Linked DNA regions of Homo sapiens: regions 2 and 3 are each linked to region 1. Evidence: promoter capture Hi-C in human tissues and cell types (Jung and others, 2019). All regions are on one chromosome and are shown on one strand. Each heading gives the region's core, a stretch centred on a gene start or on the middle of the fragment in contact. The rest is flanking DNA. Distances are from core to core; before and after follow the strand shown.

Region 1 (3,850 bases), core at 772-3,271:
GCCTTTAGTCTAGTAAATGCAATATGGTCTAGCAGGTGCTCATAAACAGGGTTTCTTTAGGCTAACATTTGAGTGTTTACCATGTACCAGGCACCCTATTAGGTTGCACCATATGAAATTGCCAATATTCGACCTTTTGAACAAAACATGGCAACTTCATATAGTTCATTCTAATACAAATTCTCAACATGGAAACCTGGCTTCTCATTTACTCACATTTACTTCTCATTTACTCACATTTACTTCACATTTACTTCTCATTTACTCACACTTCTCACACTTGGTGCCCAGGTGAGAGGGGTAACCTCTCCTGCTCCCGGGCCCCCACACTTTTACAGATGACAAGAGCACGAAGACGTCAAATAATTTGTCCAATAATATCACCTACTTGGTAAATGGTGAAAGATTCCAGTCCCCATGGCCGAATCCAGACCCAGGTTGTCATCCCTGTGATGCACCATTCAAAACCCTGCAGCTGTGCCCCTGGGAATAGGAGTAGTTCCAGAAAAGCACACAGTCCCCCCACAGTCTTACTCTAACTTGACCCAGACCCAGCAGTTTACACCAGTAGCTGGGCTTGCTCTTCATCCTCTCTACCACCCCTGGGGATCCACCAACCCTGCCCTGAAACTTGAGTCATCCTTTGTGCGCCCTGCTATGACCCCTGGGTGGGCATGTCCCCAGTGCCTTGTGACTGCTCCTCACCGACCTGTCCCAACCCCTCCCCCTACCTGGTGTCACTGCGTTCACATTCCCAAGCTGCCCCATCCAGATTGGCACTGCCTCTCAAGAGTTCCTGATCTTTGCCACAAGCTAAGGTTTTGTGTCGGTTGCTCAGAGGCAGGCCATCTTGGTGACCCTCGTGGCCTACGTGAGGATCCCTGCACCAAGGGTCCCACTGGATGAAGTGGGCAGTTTCACTGTTTCACCCAGGATACAACTAGGCGACGACCAGACTCCCGGCTGTCCTTCTGGGACTTTATCCTCACATCTGAGTCTCAACTTTCTCCTGTTTTGTTTTCTGAGACAGGGTCGCACTCTGTCGCCTAGGTTGGAGTGCAATAGTGCAATCTCGGCTCACTGCAGCCTCTGCCTCCCAGGTGCAAGCGATTCTCCCACCTGTGTGTGGGCCAGGTGCGCCGGACCTCGGGGCTCCCACCCGCTGGGACTACGGGTGCGCGCTGCCACGCCCGGCTAATTTTTGTATTTTTAGTAGAGACGGGGTTTCACCTTGTTGGCCAGGCTGGTCTCAACTCCTGACCTCAAGTGATCTTCCTGCCTCGGCCTCCCAAACTGCTGGGATTACAGGCGTGAGCCACCGGCCGACTCTCCGGTTTTTAAAAGTGCTCTGAGAACATTCCGAGGACACTGGGTGCAGAATGGCAGGTGCTGGCTTGTGCCTCTGCTCTGGTCTCCACCTCCGGCAGTAGACTGGGAAGAGCCCTGGGGGAGTTACTTCTAGGCTTCCTCCCCAGCAAACCTTCCTCGAGGCATAACCAAACATCTGCCCGGCATCCGAAGACTCGCGCCACTCTCCCGTCGGGCTGCGCCTCCCTCGCCCGCGCGGCACCGCCGGTCCAGGTCGCAGTTGGAGCGCGGTCGGGGAGGGCAGAGGTGGCGTCGGACCCTCAGGGCCCCGCAGGAGTCGCAGCGCAGGGCCGGAGCGCGCCGGGCCGCAGCTTCCCGCGAACAGGAATTCGCTGGGGGCTGCGACGGCGACAGCGGCGGGGACTGAGGGCGGGGAGGCGGCCAGATCAAAGAGAGCCGCCCACAGGGTCAAGACGGGTCGGGGAGCGCCGAGGGGCCCCTCGGAGGAGGGTGGGGGACGTCCAGGTGCGCGGACCCTAGAGCTGTGCGGGCGCCCACGCGAGGAGCCGGGGCCAGAGAGGCTGTGCGAGCTGCGCGCCCCCGCCCCGCGCGGCCCCGTGCCCCGCGCGCCCCTCAGGATCGCCGGGTCCCGCCCCCGGAGGAGGCGAGGCGGGGCGCGACTGGGTTCGCGGCCGCGTGCAGAGGTGCAGGCAGAGCAGCCTCGGAACCGAGACGATGCGTGCGCTCCGCGACCGAGCCGGGCTCCTCCTCTGCGTGCTGCTGCTGGCGGCGCTGCTGGAGGCGGCGCTAGGGCTCCCCGTGAAGAAGCCGCGGCTCCGCGGACCACGGCCTGGGAGCCTCACGAGGCTCGCAGAGGTGAGTGGCGGCGGCACCGGGCTGCGGAGCGCGCTGTCGGTCCCACCTCCCCAGCCCGCCGGCTCCAGCCGTGCGGGGAGCGGGACCGGGACACACACAGGCAGCGACCCCCCGATGGAGAGAGGGGCCGGGGCCGGCCGGAAGCTCCCGGACACCGGGCGTTGCCCAGGTGCGCCGGACTTCGGGGCTTCCACTCCTCGCGCGTGACCGCGAGCCGGGCTGCCGCGGACCAGCCGGGTGACAAGTTTGACTTCTGTGCGGAGTGAGGTGGCCGACACTCCACGGTGGCCGGGCTTCCTCGCCCTGAGCGGACCTCGCCTGCAGCCCCCTTTCCAGGTGCGCGCTAGCTCGGAGAGGAGTCCCGCCGGTGCGAGGAATCTGGCGCTTTGCGGAGTGGCGGGCCAGGGCCGCTGAGGTTCAAACGGTCAGGTGAGCCCCTTCCATGAGACAAGCGGAGGCACAGTGGGGCTCTCCAGCCGCCGGCAGGGGTGGCCAGCCTGAGACTGGCTCTGTCCTCGTGGCCTGTGGGTGGGCATTGGGGTATAAAACAGGAATGAGATGGAAGAGTGGTGTTGGCCATGGAGAGAAGCCATGGTCTGTCAAACCCTGTGTCTTCCAGTCACTGAGGGGTCTACAGTCCAGCTTATTGCCCCCTGGAATGCAGCGGACGTTCATTCCCATGGGGACAAAGACAGCCAGACTTGTATTAGGGTATGCAGGAGCAGTCCTATGTGGCAGGTGGTCTTAGGTCTTGGGTCCTGGGTCCTTCCATGTACTAAGCTGTAGGAGGCCCGAATAGCTCTTCCCATCTTGCCGTTTTTCCTTCCTTCCTTCCTTCCTTCCTTCCTTCCTTCCTTCCTTCCTTCCTTCCTTCCTTCCTTCCCTCCCTCCCTCCCTCCCTCCCTCCCTCCCTCCTTCCTTCCTACTTTTTCTTTCTCCCTCTCTTTTATTTTATTTTTGGGACAGGATCTCTCTCTGTCACCCAGGCTGGAGTGCGGTGGTGTGATGATAGCTCACTGTAGCCTCAACCTCCCGGACTCAATCGATCCTCCAGCCTCAGCCTCCTGGGTACCTGGGAGCGCAGGCATGCACCACCACACCTGGCTAATTTTTTTTATTTTTTATTTTGTAGAGATGGGGGGGTCTCACTGTGTGTCCCAGGCTGGTCTTGAACTTCTGACCTCAAGCAATCCTCCTGCCTCAGCCTCCCATAGTGCCAGTATTACAGGCATGAGCCATGGTGCCCAGCCATTCTTCTTCTTCCTTTTTTTTTTTTTTTTTTTTTGAGACAGAGCCTCATTGTGTTGCCCAGGCTGGAGTGCAGTGGCACGATCTTGGCTCACTGCAACTTCTGCCACCCGAGTTCAAGCTATTCTCCTGCCTCAGCCTCCCAAGTAGCTGGGATAACAGGCGCCTGCCACCGCGCCTGGCTAATTTTTGTATTTTTAGTAGAGACAGGGTTTCACCATCTTGGCCAGGCCGGTCTTGAGCTCCTGACCTCATGATCCACCTGCCTCGGCCTCCCAAAGTGCTGGGATTACAGGTGTGAGCCACTGCACCCAGCCATTCTTCCCATTTTTGAGATGACGACACTGAGGGTCCATATAGGCATGCAGGGTGTGGGAGATTGTGAGTGAGTGAGTGAGAGAGTGAGAGCCAGAACTTG
Region 2 (3,850 bases), core at 620-3,119, 230 kb before region 1:
GAACCACAAAAGACCCCAAATAACCAAAGCAATCCTGAATAAAAAGAAAAAAAACTGGAGGCATCACACTGCCTGGCTTCAAAATATACTACAAGGCTATAGTAACCAAAGCAGCATGGTACTGCCATAAAAACAGACACATAGACCAGTGGAACAGAATAGAGAACCCAGAAATAAATGGATCGGCTATAAATGCATGGAATTTTTGATTGTTTGGAGACAACGTCTCACTCTGTCATCCAGCCTGGAGTGCAGTGGTGTAATCTTAGCTCACTGCAACCTCCGCCTCTCAGACTCAAGCTATCCTCCCACCTTGGCCTCCCAAGTAACTGGGACTAAGGCACGCACCACCACGCCTGGCTAATTTTTGTGTTATTTTAGAGACAGGGTTTTGCCATTACACCCAGGGTGGTCTCAACCTCCTGGCCTCAAGTGATCCACCCGCCTCAGCCTCCCAAAGTGCGTTACAGGCATGAACCACCACCATGCCCAGCCAATGCGTGGATTTTTAACGCTGATGCCCAAAGCATACATTGGGGAAAGGATAGTCTCTTCAATACATAATGCTGTGAAAACCGAATAGTCACATGCAAAAGAATGAAAATAGACCTCTTATTTCTTATCACATACAAGAATCAAATCAAAATGGATTAAAGACTTAAATGTAAGGCCTGAACTATGAAACTGCTAGATGAAAACACTGGGGACATGCTTCAGGACATTGGTCTGGACAAAGATTTTTTGGGTAAAATCTCAAAAGCACAGACAGCAAAAGCAAATATAGACAAATGGGATTGCGTCAAGCTGAAAAGCTTCTGCACAGCAGTCAACAGACTGAAGAGGCCACCTACAGAATGGAAGAAAATGGTTGCAAAATATCCATTTAAGAAAGAATTAATAACCAGAATGTACAAGAACTCAATCGCAAAGAAACGAGATAATCTGATTTTAAAATGGGCAAATGATCTGAATAGACGGTCTCAAAAGAAGACATACTTATGGCCAACAGGTGTATGAAAAAATGTTCAGCATCACTAATCATCAGGGAAATTCAAATCAAAACCACAGTGAGATATTATGTCACTCCAGTTAAAATGGCTATCATTAAAAAGGCAATAATAGATGCTGGCGAGGATACAGAAGGGGGGGAACACTAGTACATTTTTAGTAAGAATATAAATTAGTACAGCCACTATGGAAAACAGTATGGCAGTTCTTCAAAAAACTGAAAATAGAGCCACTACGTGATCCAGCAATTCACTGCTGGGTATATATCCAAAAGGAAATCAGTATATCAAATCAAAAAGGGATATCTGCACTTCCATGTTTATTGCAGTGCTCTTTACAGTTACCAAGATACGGAATCAAGTTGTGTCCAGTGGGTGAATGGATAAAGAAAATGTGGTCTATATACACAATGGGATATTACTCAGCCATAAAAAAGAATGAAATCATGTAATTTGCAACAATATGGATGGAACTGAAGGTTATTAAGTGAATAAGCCCGGCACAGAAAAACGAATACTGAATCTTCCCACTTGTATGTGGGAGCTAAAAAAGTTGGTCTCAAGGAAGCAGAGAGTAGAATGGTGGTTACCAGTGGTTGGGAAGGATGTTGGGGACAGGGAATGAAGAGAGATTGGTTGATGGTACAGAAATACAGTTAGAAAGAGTAAGTTCTAATGTTCCTAGTACAGTGGGGTGAATAGTTAGTGATAATTTATTGTATATTGCAAAATAGCTAGAAGAGAAGAATAGTTAATGATAATTTATTGTATATTGCAAAATAGCTAGAAGATTTAGAATGTTCCCAACACAAACAAATGTTTGAGGTGATGGATATCCTAATTACCCTGATTTGATTATTACACATTTTGTTCATGTATCAAATATATATACCCCATAAATATGTATAATGATTATATATCAAAAATAAATTTTAAAAGCAATTAACATTGATAAATTTGCTTTATCACATATTTGCCCATCTTTCTGTCCATCTGTCTGTCCGATTTACTGCATTGCATTTCAAAGTAAGTTGAAGACAGCAATACATTTTACCCTTAAATATTTTAGCCGCATGCTTGATTCTAGAATTCACATTCAAAAATTAAACTAATATCATTTATTAGACTTAAATTAATTGCAAGTAAGGTTTAAAAGGCTGAGTGTGACTACAAAGAAGTTTGGAATTTTCTAAGGTTAAAAAATATTCTCTTGTTCAGAATATTGGCTGGGTGCGGCAGATCACTTGAGGTCAGGAGTTTGAGACTAGCTTGGTGAAACTCCATCTCTACTAAAAATAAAAAATTAGCCCGGCATGGTGGTGCACACCTGTAATCCCAGCTACTTGGGAGGCTGAGGCAGGAGAATCGCTTGAACCCGGGAGGCAGAGGTTGCGGTGAGCTGAGATCGCGCCACTGCATTCCAGCCTGGGCAGCAAGAGCGAAACTCCGTCTCAAAACAAACAAAATACTAATGGGGCTGAGTGCAGTGGCTCACACCTGTGACTCCAGCACTTTGGGAGGCCTAGGTGGGAAGATCACTAGAGCCTGGAGTTTGAGACCAGCCTCGACAACATAAGTGGGACCCCATCTTTACAAAAAATTTAAAAATTAGCCAGGCATGGTGGCACACATCTGTGGTCCCAGGTACTCGGGAGGATGAGGCAGGAGGATCACTTGAATCCAGGAGGTAGTGGCTGCAGTGAACCATGTTCATGCTACTACACTCCAGCCTGGGTGACAGAGTGAGATGCTGTCTCTTTTTAAAAAATTATATATATACACACGTGTACACGTATGCACACATATAATACATATTACAGTGAAGTACTTTTCAACTGTTCACACAGAGGATGGGGAGGCACGTGAGAGGGATGAAATCCGGCATGACAGGCGAAAAGAGAGACAGCATGACCGGAATCTTTCCAGGGCAGCTCCTGATAAGAGGTAGGTGTTATTTAAGATGTGTACCAATCATGGTGGCCGGGCGCAGTGGTTCACCCCTGTAATCCCAGCACTTTGGGAGGCCAATGCGGGCGGATCACGAGGTCAGGAGATCGAGACCATCCTGGCTAACACGATGAAACCCTGTGTCTACTAAAAGTACAAAAAATTAGCCGGGCATGGTCGTGGCAGGCGCCTGTAGTCCCAGCTACTTGGCAGGCTGAGGCAGGAGAATGGCGTGAACCCGGGAGGTGGAGCTTGCAGTGAGCCGAGATCACGCCACTGCATTCCAGCCTGGGCGACAGAGCGAGACTCCATCTCACAAAAAAAAAAAAAAAAAAAAAAGATATGTACCAATCATGAAGAGTGGCCTTTTTGTACCTTTTAGAGCAGAGTTTTAGTCCACTAAGATCAGTTTTGCTTCTCTCCCTTTCTTCTTTAGTTTGATAACTTAATAAATTAGCACTTAATTTTCTTGTACTTAACTACTTTGTCTTAGCTCTAGTTGACTGTCTTTGGAATTAATCTTCCATCACTTAAGTCAGAATTGAGAATGATGGGAATATAGAAAACGGAATCGAGATCAGATTTTTGAAAAGGATGTAGTAGTAAATTTGGACTGTTATAGTCCGTTCTTTTTCTACCTCAAATGGTGAGATAAATGGATTATGTGCCTCTTTAGACAGGAAATAAGCTTTCATGCTTTTATTGAGATCATTTTATATGCATAGTACTGCATCTAGTACAATTGAGGAGAAGAGCAGTTTTGAAAGAAGTAGAAAATCAGCTCATTTTTAGGAGTAGTTTAACTTACAGTTCAGAAAGACAGAGCTATCCATAAAATAATTTGAGAAAATTTGCAAAGCACTCTTAGTAAGTATAAACGTATAGAACAAACTAAA
Region 3 (3,850 bases), core at 1,006-3,505, 190 kb after region 1:
TAGATAGAAGCAGGCACGCATTGTCACCTGCTGCCCTGCCCCGGTATACTGTCAGACCTCAGGTTGGAGAACAGCCTGGAACCCGGGCAATCAGGAGTCTCCTGCAGCCCCAGCAGTGCCTCCATGCACTGGCACGCTGCCTGCTCCTCCCCTCACAGCCACAGCTGCTGGAGTGTTGCCTACATCTCAGAGCCTTTTCTGAAGATTTTGGCATCCCCACACCCTGTCACCATGTTCCTGTGTCTTTCCCCATGAAGGTTTCAGGCACACAGAAAGAGTTTTCCAGCCTTATTTGAAGGGAGGCCAAATGTCTGCTGCAGTCCCTCTGTGTCCTGATTTACAGCACCAGCCTTGATGGAACATGGCAGGGCCTTAACACCCAACTCTTTGGGAACCTTGAACGTGTGGCTGAATGAAGCCAGCAGAAGCTGACCTCCAGTGTGGACCTCTCAGAGAAGTTTGCATTTACAAGCCCCTTTCCTTGAGGATTTCACAGCATTTAAATAAATGGCTGTGTGCTTATTTGGCCTCATCGTTAGATGATTTGCATGGCTATATCGTGGTATATTAAACAAGGAGTATATCCTACCCTCAAGTTCTTGTTCTTAAGTGATTCTGTGTCTTCCTAATAACTTTTGAACACCACATACCATACATAATTGGATGTGACAACCAAACGTGAGAATTTCCCATTCTTCTGGCTTGTCTGTTTATTTTGATGGACAGGTAGGGGATGGAAGAGGGCCAGCAGCTTAAAAAAACAAAAAACCAAACAGGTATCCAGCTACTGAAGTATCAAGCAATCCCTTTTCCCAAAATCAAAATACATACATTGTGTAGATTAAAGACTGGTTTCTGGTGTAAATGAAGAAAAGAACTAGGGGTTCCTTAAAATTCTCTGAAATACCTTCAGAGGGGTCTTTCTCAACTTGTACCTACAGTTGTGTAATAGAAGCTAATGGCTATCAATTACTATCTGTGTGTTAATAACACTCATTTTCTTCCCTTCTCTCTATTCCTGGTGTGTAGCTACTTGGTTGCTTTTCTCCCTGTCTCCTACCCACACCTTCCTGGCTGAACTTGCTGATTTCATGTCAGTGCACAAGTTGCTGCTTAATGGGAACATATATATTGCTTGATTTGGCTCTTCACTATTACAATACTCTTTTCTTAGTTATAGATATCCTAGGTGACTTTAGGTCACCAAAGTCATGCCTTCATCAGGTCCCCTGTCTTAAATGTTAGGTTGTACTGAGTCCAGTAGGTCGCTGACCTAGCTCAGCTTGTTATTTGACAGCTTCTCTATTCCTCCCACAGTTCTGTGCATTCCTTGGCTCCTGGCTGGTCCCCTTTGCCTACCTCACTGTACTGGATCTGTCCAAGTCCCTCTCGGCAGCACTGCTCACAGCTGCCCTCCTCACCTTTGGTAAGTTGTCTTAGCCATACCATGGCTTTTGGGAAATGGGCTGCCACTCCGTGAATGTAGCTGAAAATCAGTACATTCAAGGGCCCTATATGTGGGTCCAGTTCAATTAATTTTAGGATTGGGTAAAATGTACTACAAATCTCATTCACTAGTAATACTTAATGTATATCAATAGTTATATATAACAAGCCTTTATATTATTGGAGGGGAGAATCGGCGTGGGTAATCCCAAGGAATAGATTTACCTCCACGTTATTCACGGTTGAGTTTGGAATGGGTAATAAGATAGATTTGTATGTGAGTATGTGTGTTTTTGAAGGAAGCTTATAATTCTAATTTTGCTTCTCTTAAGTTAAGATTAGTTTGCATTCCTTAACTAATTTCAACTGAATATAAAGGTAAATGCAGAAGTAGCTGGGTGGCAAGAGATAGCAAAATGGGAACTTGGATAATAATCTTCACATGGATAAATGAGAGTTCATCGTAGAAGTTGATCCTGTTGCTAGCTTTGTTCCTATGAAAGTGAATTCATGACCTTGTGGAGCTTAACATTTAAAGAAGTCTAGACCAATTTAAATGGGGTACTTTAGGGGTTTGCTTTGACAGATATGTTGCTTTGTTTTGACAGATAGATTGCAAGATTATTGGCTTTCTCTATAGAGGACTGGTGGCTTTTTCCTTGTATCTTGAATTTCCATCTTCAGTTATTCATTCATTTAGTCATTTATGTACTTTTCATTCAATAGTTATTTCTCAAGCACCTACCCAGCTCCCGGCCACTTTTCTTAGTCTGAGAGGATACACTGATGAGTCACTCTGGTCTCATTGAGCTTACCTCATCGTGGGGCAGACAGTAAATAAACAAGTAAATGAATAAGTCTGTCATGTGATGTCCTAAGCCACAAGTGCAGTGTAGAAAATAAAGCAGTGTAAGGGATGGAATAATGGAGATCAGTACTATTTTAGACAGGATAGTCAGGAAAGAGCTTCTGAGAGGGGAGCTTTGAGCAGAGACCTGAGTGAGACAAAGGATCAGGCCCTGCAGGGATCTGAGGGAAGAGCATTCAGGCAGAGGGAAGTGCATGTACTGTAGTTCTGGTGTGGACCTCTGTGGGTTCAAATCACAGTAAGAAGGCTGGCGTGGAAAGGGCAGAGTGAGTGAGGCAGAGGGTGTTGGGAGATGAGGTTAGATGGGTAGGGAGACCGCACAGACTCTGGCAGTTGTCATGAGAACTTTTTACTTTGAGTGAGGTTGGAAGACATTGGAGGGTTTAAGCAGGGGCATGACATAATGAGATTTAAGGATTTAAATTAAAAAACATCACTCTGCCATCTGTCTGGAGAATCGACCCCCAAGAGAGACTTCATGTAAAATGATAAGATTCTATCATAGGTGTAGATAGTTTGCGGTTACATGAGCAGAGTGGTAGGACTCCCTTTTTGATGGTGGAAATGAGGATGACACCTTGTCTCAGGGCTGGTCTGAGGGAGCGAATGACATGATCCTCTCTTGGGTTGAGGGCCTAGAGGCAGTGTGAGTTACTGCTTCTTGTCATTGGGCTTTGATGTCTCCCAGAGCTGTGGCCTTCTACCTCCCTGATGACTCAGTGTTGACTCTAGTCCTGACTGCACAAGTGCTTACACTCAATTAAGTGGCAAGAGGGACTGTTTCCTACTACTGGGGTGCTTGGTTTTCAGGGGGCCCTTCTCTTACCTCGCTTTTTCACCAGCGAGCTCATGTTTTTCAGACACGGGATGCCTCACTCTGTCCCAGTACATCCTCCTTGACCCCATCCTGATGTTCTTCATCATGGCTGCCATGCTGAGCATGGTCAAGTACAACTCTTGCGCCGACAGGTCAGAAACTCCATCCCCGGGAGGGGAGGGTTGGAAGCTGTGGCAACTCCAAAATTTCTGTAATGGCCAGGGCCAGGGCGGGTGCCCAGAGACTTGTCTTGAAGCTGATTTTAAGGCAAGCATACTTTTTGTTTGTTTTTTTAACTTAGATTGTCCATTTTAGATCATAAAAATAGATTTTAAAAAGTTTTCTACAGGTGATTTTATTTTTGCCATATTCAAGACCGAGAAAATGTCAGTTGTCTTTTTCAAGCGTATTATTATTATCATGTTTACAATGGAGTACAATTGGGTAGGGGTTTTGGGATATCATGGGGGGTCCTAATACTTTCCCCACCCACCTCTTGTAACCAGTGCTGGTTAGGAAATCCCGGGACAGGGCTGTCCTTCACATACTCTGTCCTAGAAGGGAGGGCACCAGGGTAGATGCTGCCTGGAAACTATCTCCCTTTCGTCAGTGGTTGCATCCAGTCCTGACCTAATGATGGGAATAGCATATGTAAAGGTTGGCTTGAATGGTCCATACCAGCCAAGAGGATCCTTCCAGGTCCTGGTCAGTTCTAAAGC

Evidence for each region. The method cuts DNA at HindIII sites, captures the fragments that hold promoters and counts their contacts. A contact is called where the count stands out against the background at its distance.
Region 2: a fragment that was not itself captured here is called in contact with the fragment with the promoter of ISM2 in region 1 in 1 of the 25 tissues and cell types used here (bladder).
Region 3: a contact is called between a fragment that was not itself captured here and the fragment with the promoter of ISM2 in region 1, in 1 of the 25 tissues and cell types used here (bladder).

Annotation. Positions count from the first base shown.
Region 1 is chr14:77,496,987-77,500,836 of GRCh38, reverse strand. It overlaps ISM2 (isthmin 2), which reads left to right and starts at 2,021. Exons shown (of 7, transcript NM_199296.3): 1 at 2,021-2,184. The coding sequence starts at 2,044. RefSeq lists an enhancer at 1,338-1,397 and silencers at 1,768-1,957, 2,228-2,437, 2,478-2,537. The HindIII fragment of the contact is 11,286 bases long and covers 1-3,850 here.
Region 2 is chr14:77,722,282-77,726,131 of GRCh38, reverse strand. It overlaps SNW1 (SNW domain containing 1), which reads left to right. Exons shown (of 14, transcript NM_012245.3): 11 at 2,855-2,951. Among named protein-coding and RNA genes, the nearest start is that of SLIRP, 16 kb to the right of the region's middle. The HindIII fragment of the contact is 6,691 bases long and covers 1-3,850 here.
Region 3 is chr14:77,302,268-77,306,117 of GRCh38, reverse strand. POMT2 (protein O-mannosyltransferase 2) reads left to right here. Exons shown (of 21, transcript NM_013382.7): 4 at 1,318-1,426; 5 at 3,175-3,283. Among named protein-coding and RNA genes, the nearest start is that of POMT2, 17 kb to the left of the region's middle. RefSeq lists enhancers at 2,119-2,618, 2,619-3,120. The HindIII fragment of the contact is 6,861 bases long and covers 1-3,850 here.